Linked DNA regions of Homo sapiens: region 1 is linked to region 2. The links are contacts of gene promoters, found by promoter capture Hi-C in human tissues and cell types (Jung and others, 2019). All regions are on one chromosome and are shown on one strand. Each heading gives the region's core, a stretch centred on a gene start or on the middle of the fragment in contact. The rest is flanking DNA. Distances are from core to core; before and after follow the strand shown.

Region 1 (4,068 bases), core at 1,214-3,713, 280 kb after region 2:
ATTGGTGTATAAATTGTTAGGTACTAGATCAGGGCTTCCTAAACTTTAATGTACAGAATATTCTGAGTAAGTCTAGTCTGGGGCCTGAGTTTCTGCATTTCTGTTTCTTTTTCTTTTTTTTGAGACGGAGTCTCACTCTGTCACCCAGGCTGGGGTGCAGTGTCACAGTTCACTGCAACCTCTGCCTCCCGGGTTCAACCAGTTCTTCCACCTCAGCCTCCCGAGCAGCTGGGACTACAGGCATGCGCCACCATGCCCGGCTAATTTTTGTACTTTTAGTAGAGACAGGGTTTCACTATGTTGGCCAGGCTGGTCTCGAACTCCTGATCTTGTGATCCGCCCGCCTCGACCTCCCAAAGTGCTGGGATTACAAGCGTGAGCCACTGCGCCCAGCCTTGTTTCTTTTGTTTTTTTTTAGAGACAGGGTCTTGCTCTGTCACCCAGGCTAGAGTGCAGTGGCACAGTCATAGCTCACTGTAACTTCGAACTCCTGGGCTGAAGTGATCTTCCCACCTGAATGTCCTGAGTTGCTAAGACTACAGGTACGTGCCAACACACCTGGCTAATTTTTAATATTTTTTGTAGAGACCAGGTCTCACTATTACCCAGGCTGGCCTAGAACTCCTGGCCTCAAGTGATTCTCCCATCTCAGCCTCCTGAGTAGCTGGGACTACAGGCACATGCCACCACATCTGGCTAATTATTTTATTTTTTTGTAGAGATGGGGTCTCGTTGTGTTGCCTGGGCTAGTGTTGAACTCCTGGCCTCAAGTGATCCTCCTGCCTTGGCTTCCCAAAAATGTTGGGATCACAGGTGTGAGCCACCATACCTGGCCAAGATTCTGCATTTTTAACAAATAATTTCCATGTTGCTGGTCTGTGGACTATACTTGGAGTAGCAATGAGCTAGATGACTTTCCAAACCCTATCACCATGTTTTAGGATTTTTTTTTTGTACTAGTAAAAGTAGGCTTTTGGTATTGCACAGATACTCGTTTAAAGCGTCTGTTTCTCTACAGTCTAATGTATATTTTGACATTTTAATAGAAATTTTTGGATTTTTAAAGGAAAATCTCTTGTGTTTAGATTGATTGATCGTTCTGTGGTTGTGTGGTTTGTAGCTTCAAGTCATTCTTCAAAGTTTTAAAAATAGCCTTGACAATTATTAGACGTCAGTGACAACTTTCAGAGTTTACATTTAATAAGGAACGTCTAATTGTTTACTTATTTCTAACAGAATTGTAGTTGATACTGCCTTTGGTTATTTTTGCAGGGTATTGTTTGAGGTTAGACATTAACGTAGTATAAAATATAACAGGAAACTTAATCTTCTGTTTGACTCTGGATGTTTTAGTTGGTATAAGTACTGCTTTTTGTTGTTGTTGTTGTTAAAGCTGTTATTATTATGAATTAGTAGCAATTGTATGCCAGAGATTAGCCTGTTAATTTTATCTGTAGCACAGGTGAATTGAAAACCTAATTTGTGTAAATGGATAACCAATAGCACAGATAGCTCTTTAGTTAAATATCCTATACTCAAAAGGATATAAATTGATTCTGGGGGTACATTAATACTTATTTTTTCTTTAAGATACATCACATTAAATATTTTCATAGTCTTGTGCTTTTATTGAAGATTGTAACTAAATCATAAATCTTTAAGAAAATTCCCAGTATTACTTATTTTTGAAAATATTAATTGGTAATCAACATTTGCAGACCAGGATAGTAAAACATTTTGAGGGAAAAGTATTATTTTAAAAACTTGAGAATAATTTTCATTTTAATGATTATATTAGCCCTACATTATTTCATTTAATAATTATCAGTAGTCAAAATTGTCGAGGAAATTATATTATTACAAAAGTGACTTTAAAATGTATTTATTATTTTCTTATTTCTTATTAAATAAGTAAGCACTCGCCTTGCAATTAAAGTTTTCACATAGAATTTATGTGAAATATTGATAAAAAATTTTTTGGACCTGAGATCCAACAATTCTCTATAGAAATAAACCTCCTTTGTTTCTTCTGGTAGCATCCATTGATTTCTTTTTTCTGAAGGTACACTAATAGTGCTGATAGAAGCAGAACAATTGGAATTTACATTGAAAATAAATGTGATGAATAAAAAGCAATACATTGTAATATAGAGTTGATTTTGCTTCACCCATAAGTTCTAAAATCTAAAGGACAAAAATACTGAAAAGGTCGAGAAAAAAATGAAAGTAAGAACAAACGATTCAAAAAGAAAATGACACTGAGGTCTTGGTTTAATACATATGTATTTCAGGTTGATGGTTGATTTCATTAGCAAATCTCATTGTTATGCAATGTCTGTTCTTCTGCAGAAAAATGAATATTGTATTCTCACAGCCTCTGTGTGTATCTATTATGTTGCAATAAATGAAAATATACACATCTGTATCTGTCTTTGGCTTACTCTTTCCATTTTGTTTTTAAGGAAAAGAAAGAAAATTGAATAATATTCTTTTGTTGTTAAATTTGTTCAAAAGCCATTTCAATTTATATTATGGAAATGTTTCCTACTTTTGTTCTTTGAAGTAAACAATTATAAGATGGTTAATAATGTAACCATGATAATTATCCTATAACTTTTTTAATGAACAGAATGAATCTTGATTGATTTAAGTTGATAATATGAGATACTTCAGTGTATGTTTTCTAACATATTTTTAAATATTAGGAGTGGTTTTCCTTATTGCAGGAAATTATGGTAAGGGAGTGTATATATTATGCCAAATCTAAAGACTACTACCTTTTACAATAGCAGAATTATATATTGAGATTACTAAGGTTTGAATTTTTATAAAATAGGAAGTTCAGAAATAAATTTTAATGGCTACACATTGGAAGAATTCTTTGAATGGTAATAAAGTAATAAGCTTCATAAATTTTATGTTATGAGTTCAAATACGAATCAAACTGTATTGGATGAAAATTGTCATTTAATCTTCGTCATTTTGAGGTTTGACACTAGCTTACAAAATAGATTTGGTTTTTGGTAGTGTTCTCAAAAGTTGTCTCACAATTGAAATTATTTTGACAAGCTTGAAAACAGAAAAGCCCAAGGTTTGATTAAATATGGGTTGATTGTATACCATGCAGAAATCACCTGTATGGTAAAAATTTGCCTTCTGGTTCAATTGATGCAATCATAATAAATATCCTAGTTATGTTGAACAAACATGAGCTGTTATAAATATATACAGCAGTTTATTAATGCATTATAGTAAGTTTATTTGTATTTAGAGTATTTGCTACATGTTGAGCATTTTGTTATTCATGGTGGGTAATATAAAAGAAGGAATTTCAAGATCTAATAAGGAGAATCCCCAAATAATTATATAGTAATATATAGCTAAATTATGTAGAGAAAGCTTTTATGGGCCCTTCAAGTAGAGTCTGAGAGAGAGCCATCCTGAAAGTGATGAGACCTAAACTGATAATGAGGTAGGAGAAGAGATATGAAACAACATAAGCATAATCTGGGAGGCAGGAGGACATAAATTTAGGATCTTTGGGAGGCAGAGAGCAGACCAACCCAGTAGTAAGGAAGATATGATTTGCTACAACCTATTTACCTGACATGAAAACCAGAATGCATCATTGTTACATTTTATTAGTGTTCAGGCTGGATATTATACCATGGTAGCATGTCGTTTGACATCACTGGTAGATCTTGTTTTTTCTTGTATAATAAAATAAGAGATAGGACATTTCCTTTGTATCAGTTTTGCTGTCTTTCCTCTGCACCAGTAACAAAAAGTAAATGTTCTAAAAGTATGCAAATATGAATCTAAATTGATGCAAACTGAATGTGAAGACAGAGTCACATTTATCTACTACGGTTAGAAATACCAAACTGGGGAGGATTAAACATCATCATAGATTGGACTCCCAGCTGTTGTAATGGGCAGGATCATAGAAGGAAGATCACCAACGAAAAGAGGAACTCATTTCAGTTAAAAAGAAAGGTCCCTTGGCCAGTCTCAGCTACTGGGGAGGCTGAGGCAGGAGAATGGCGTGAACCCGGGAGGCGGAGCTTG
Region 2 (4,170 bases), core at 491-2,990:
TCATGGCTCTAAAAATCCTCTGTGTTCCATCTATTCATCCCCTCCTTCTTCCCACCCCAACCCCTGGCAACCATTTATCTTTTTACTGTCTCCATAGTTTTGCCTTGTCTAAAATGTCATATAGTTGGAATCATATAGTATGCAGTCTTTTCAGATTGGCTTCTTTCTCTTAGCAATACATATTTAAAGTTCTTCCATGTCTTTTTGTGGCTTGATAGCTCATTTAATTTTGGTACTGAGTAACATTTCATTGTTTGGATGTGCCATTGTTTATCCATTCACTTATTGAAGGACATCTTGTTTGCCTCTAGGTTCTGGCAATTATGAATAAAGCTGCTATCAACATTCATGTGCAGGTTTTTGTGTGTATGTAAGTTTTTAACTCATTTGGATAAATACCAAGGAGTTGTGATTGCTAGATGGTATGGTAAGAGTACGTTTAGTTTTGGAAGAAGCTTCCAAATTGTCTTCCAAAGTGGCTGTACCATTTTGCATTTGCACCAGCATTGAATGAGAGTTCTTTTTGCTCCACATCTTTGCCAGCATGTGGTCTTGTCAGTGTTTTTGGATTCTGGTATCTAATAGGTATGTAGTGGTATTTCATTTTTGTTTTCATATACAATTCAGCAATGACATATGATGTTGAGCATCTTTTCATCTATTTGCCATTATATAACTTCTTTGATGACGTGTGTATTCAGATCATCTGACCATTTTTTTTAACTGGGTCATTTGTTTTCACGTTGTTGAGTTTAGACTTGATTTTATAGAACTCTTTTGCCAATGACATGAGGCTTAAACAAGCACCCTTGCTTGACCCTGGCTAGTGTTGTCCAGAGGCCCTCATGGGTGAAGTATAATTGCACAGTTTATGCATACATTGTAGCAAACATAGCTTAAAGACTCTTCATCCAGGAGCTGGTAACAGAGAAAAGTTGTCTAAGAGACATAGTCCACTGAAAGGGGTCTTTGAAAAGGAGGATTCTGGCCAGTAGATCCAAAGAAGAAGGCTGGCAAACGCCACCTTAACCAACTGATCCAAGTTAACATCAGTGATGAGACATCGACATCTTGTCCTTCTCGAGCACGTACATCACTTCTGGGGAACTCTTTCCCAAAAAAGCGCAACCTGAATCCAATTAGAAGGAAATGTCAGACAAAATGAAACTGAGGGACATTCTACAAAACGACTGGCCAGTACTTTTTAAATGTGGTTTGATCGTGAAAGAAAAAGAATGACAGAGAACCGTCCTAGATTAAAGGGAGACTAAGGAGACACGACATGCAATGTATGATCCTGGATTGAATCTTGGAACAGAAAAGGACCCTTAGAGGGGCAATTAATGAAATGTGGTAAGTGCTGTAGATTAGCTAATCGCATTATCCCAGTGCGAGTGCCCTGTGTTTGATCACTGCACTGGCGTTATATACAATGTCAATATTTAGAGAAGCTGGCTGAAGGGTTACGGAAATCTCTTGTGCTGTTTTTGCAACATTTTCGAAAGTCCTAAATTATTTCAATTCAAATGAAAAGTTTAAAAAACAAAAATTAGAAGTTCCAGAAGGCCGCGCGCCAGCCGCTCCTGCGGGACGGGACACCCGGGTTCTCCTGGTGGGAGCCCCCAGTGCCGTTCACGTTCCGCCCGGGGGGGGGATTAAACTCGCACGCGAGAAGCACCGCCCCCGCTCCCGCCCCGCCCCGCTCCTCTCCGGCCGCGCAGCCGCTGCCGCCCACCCGCACCCGCCGTCATGCTCCGGGCCGCGCTGCCCGCGCTCCTGCTGCCGTTGCTGGGCCTCGCCGCTGCTGCCGTCGCGGGTAAGCCCTTACGTAGTCCCTCGCCGGGACCGTGCGCGACCGCCTTCGCCCCCTTCCCAACGCACGCTCTTCGTCCCCGCGCACCCGAGGGCGGCCCGCAGACGCAACACCCGGCCGGCCATCCCGCCCTTCCCTGCACGCCCGTCCCCCGTGGGTCCTGGCTCCGGGTCACCTCTCACCCGCCTGCCCTCGGGGAGGGGAGGTGGCCGAGAATAAGGGAGGGCTCTGTCTTCCTCGGAGTCCACATCCTCACCGCAGACCCCACTCCGCGGGGAGGGAACCCCCAAATTAGGCCAGTTGGCCGGAGAACTGAGGGACTTGGAGTCGCACGACGGGCGCCGTTTCAGGGCAATTTCGGGCTGAAATGAGAAGCGGGGACGTTGGTGGCGATTTCCCCTGCTGGTGCGCGGCCGGAGTGGGGTTGCTGGGATGGGGGTGGGGGCCGGAGGAAGTAGGCCCTCTTTTGCAAGCAGCGCTGTTTGTCTAGTTGGTTGGTGTTCAAGTTGTTTAAACAGGAAAACAGTTCAGCCAAATAACCCCTGGATGGAAGAGGAACGGGAATAGGCAAAGCTTGGATTTCACTGAAATCAAGGAGTTTTAAAGTTCTAGTCTGCTGTTGTGCAAGTGACATCTGAAAAATCACACACGTGATCATTCATTTACAAAACGACTCGTGAGGAAAATGCACAATTCTATTGACCGTGGTCTTTATTTTTAAAAAATTTCCATACAAGCATGTCAAAAATATGTGGATGGGGAGACTCTGGAGAACACAGACTTCCAAAAACACCACTGACTGAATAATTCCAGGAATTAAAGAGCAAAATAAACAAGAACTAAATGAGTACTTGTGTGGGCTTAAATAAAGTGCAAGAGATTTAAATAAAATGCAAGAGATTCCCCCCCCCCACCCCTTGCCCCAGATTTCACTGCGTTTTTATAATAACTGCCTGCTCGAAGTCTACTGACAGGAATATTTCAGTGGACCTCAGTGTTGGAGGCAGCAGCAGCTCAGAACTTGGATACAAACCCAAGGTTCCTTTCTTGAAAACTTCTGTGGACCTGCATTTATGACTGGTTGTGACATCTGCTGCCTATCAAAGGGGCAGAAACAAGATGTGCCCATGTTCACATTGTTCAGACTGGGAACATTAATTTTGTCTAAGACAAAGCTGGGCTGTCTCTGAACCCTCCTTCTGCACACCCTCATTTTGCGAGCCAGTAACATCTCAACTCTCATGTAAACCACCCTCTGCGAGGCTGTGCATTTGTACTTTAGGCTAGTCGAATTTTCTTGTCAGATTTTTCTTTCTTGTCAGACTTTTAAAGAAAATCAGTTTCTAGATTTTGGTATGTCTCTTCTTCAGTGAAGCTGTTTTGACCAGCAATAGAGGGCAAATTTCCCTTTGGAAATTTTTGTGCATTTCCTTTGATAAGTCCAGTGTGGATCAATAGGCTTTTCAAGAGCTTTAGAAAAGTGCATGATGAATAAATTAATGTTAATTAATCAGCTCCTCCCAGTCAGGAAGCTTTAAGGATTAATTTGGAAATGAGTGTGAGCTTTGACCTAGCTAGTTAACCAACTTATCTGCACTTCAGTAAAACAGAGATAATACTTACTCATGGGGCTATTGGGAGCATTAAGTGGGAACTCCACGTCTAGTCCCTATTACAGGCGTGGTTCATCTTGGTTTCCTTCCCTTTATTCTCTTCATACAAAATGAAGGGTAATTGTTGCAACCAGAAAACGTATGAATACCACCTTATGTATATTGGATGTTTATGGTTACTGAACACATTCATATGTATGCTAATGTTATAGGGCTGAAAAACTAAGTGTGTTTTTCATAATACTTTACAAATCTCCCATCCAAGCAAGATCAGGGGTCATATTTGGCTTAGAACTAAGTCAAGAAAGAGTTTGTTGCTGAATACCAAGATCTTAATAGAAAAGCTCTTATGATGTTGCATAATAAATATGGGTATTGCATATAAATGTGATGTTGAAACGGAAATCATTGTTATTGTCTGTCATTCTGGAGGTTATTAGTGAAGTGATCTTAACCTTGTTCTTAGCTATTATTTTGAAAATCACAGTGGACAAAACATTCTTTAAATTCCTGAGTGAAAATCCATGGCATCGCTTTAAAAAGTTTTTCCGTAAGGGTGCTTAAGCACATAATAGATGATCAGTATGTATTTATTTGGTCAGTGGTTTCCTATGCCTGGCATGAGCTGAGTGAACAAGCATGTTCCGAGTAAGTCCTCATTCTGTGATCATCATGTGGATCAGAATCTAGGGATTTTGAATTGCCATGTCCTACAAGCCTTAGATGAGGTGCCTCTGCCTTCTT

Evidence for each region. The method cuts DNA at HindIII sites, captures the fragments that hold promoters and counts their contacts. A contact is called where the count stands out against the background at its distance.
Region 1: a fragment that was not itself captured here is called in contact with the fragment with the promoter of CD302 in region 2 in 1 of the 25 tissues and cell types used here (hippocampus).

What each region holds. Positions count from the first base shown.
Region 1 is chr2:159,519,751-159,523,818 of GRCh38, reverse strand. The region is part of intron 2 of BAZ2B (bromodomain adjacent to zinc finger domain 2B); the gene reads left to right. Among named protein-coding and RNA genes, the nearest start is that of BAZ2B-AS1, 94 kb to the left of the region's middle. The HindIII fragment of the contact is 3,851 bases long and covers 538-4,068 here.
Region 2 is chr2:159,795,778-159,799,947 of GRCh38, reverse strand. CD302 (CD302 molecule) reads left to right here and starts at 1,740. Exons shown (of 6, transcript NM_014880.5): 1 at 1,740-1,816. The coding sequence starts at 1,750. All of the region lies in intron 33 of LY75-CD302 (LY75-CD302 readthrough), which reads left to right. It overlaps LOC124906083 (a long non-coding RNA gene), which reads right to left. Exons shown (of 2, transcript XR_007087273.1): 1 at 1,996-4,170; 2 at 1-1,129. The HindIII fragment of the contact is 5,989 bases long and covers 1-2,866 here.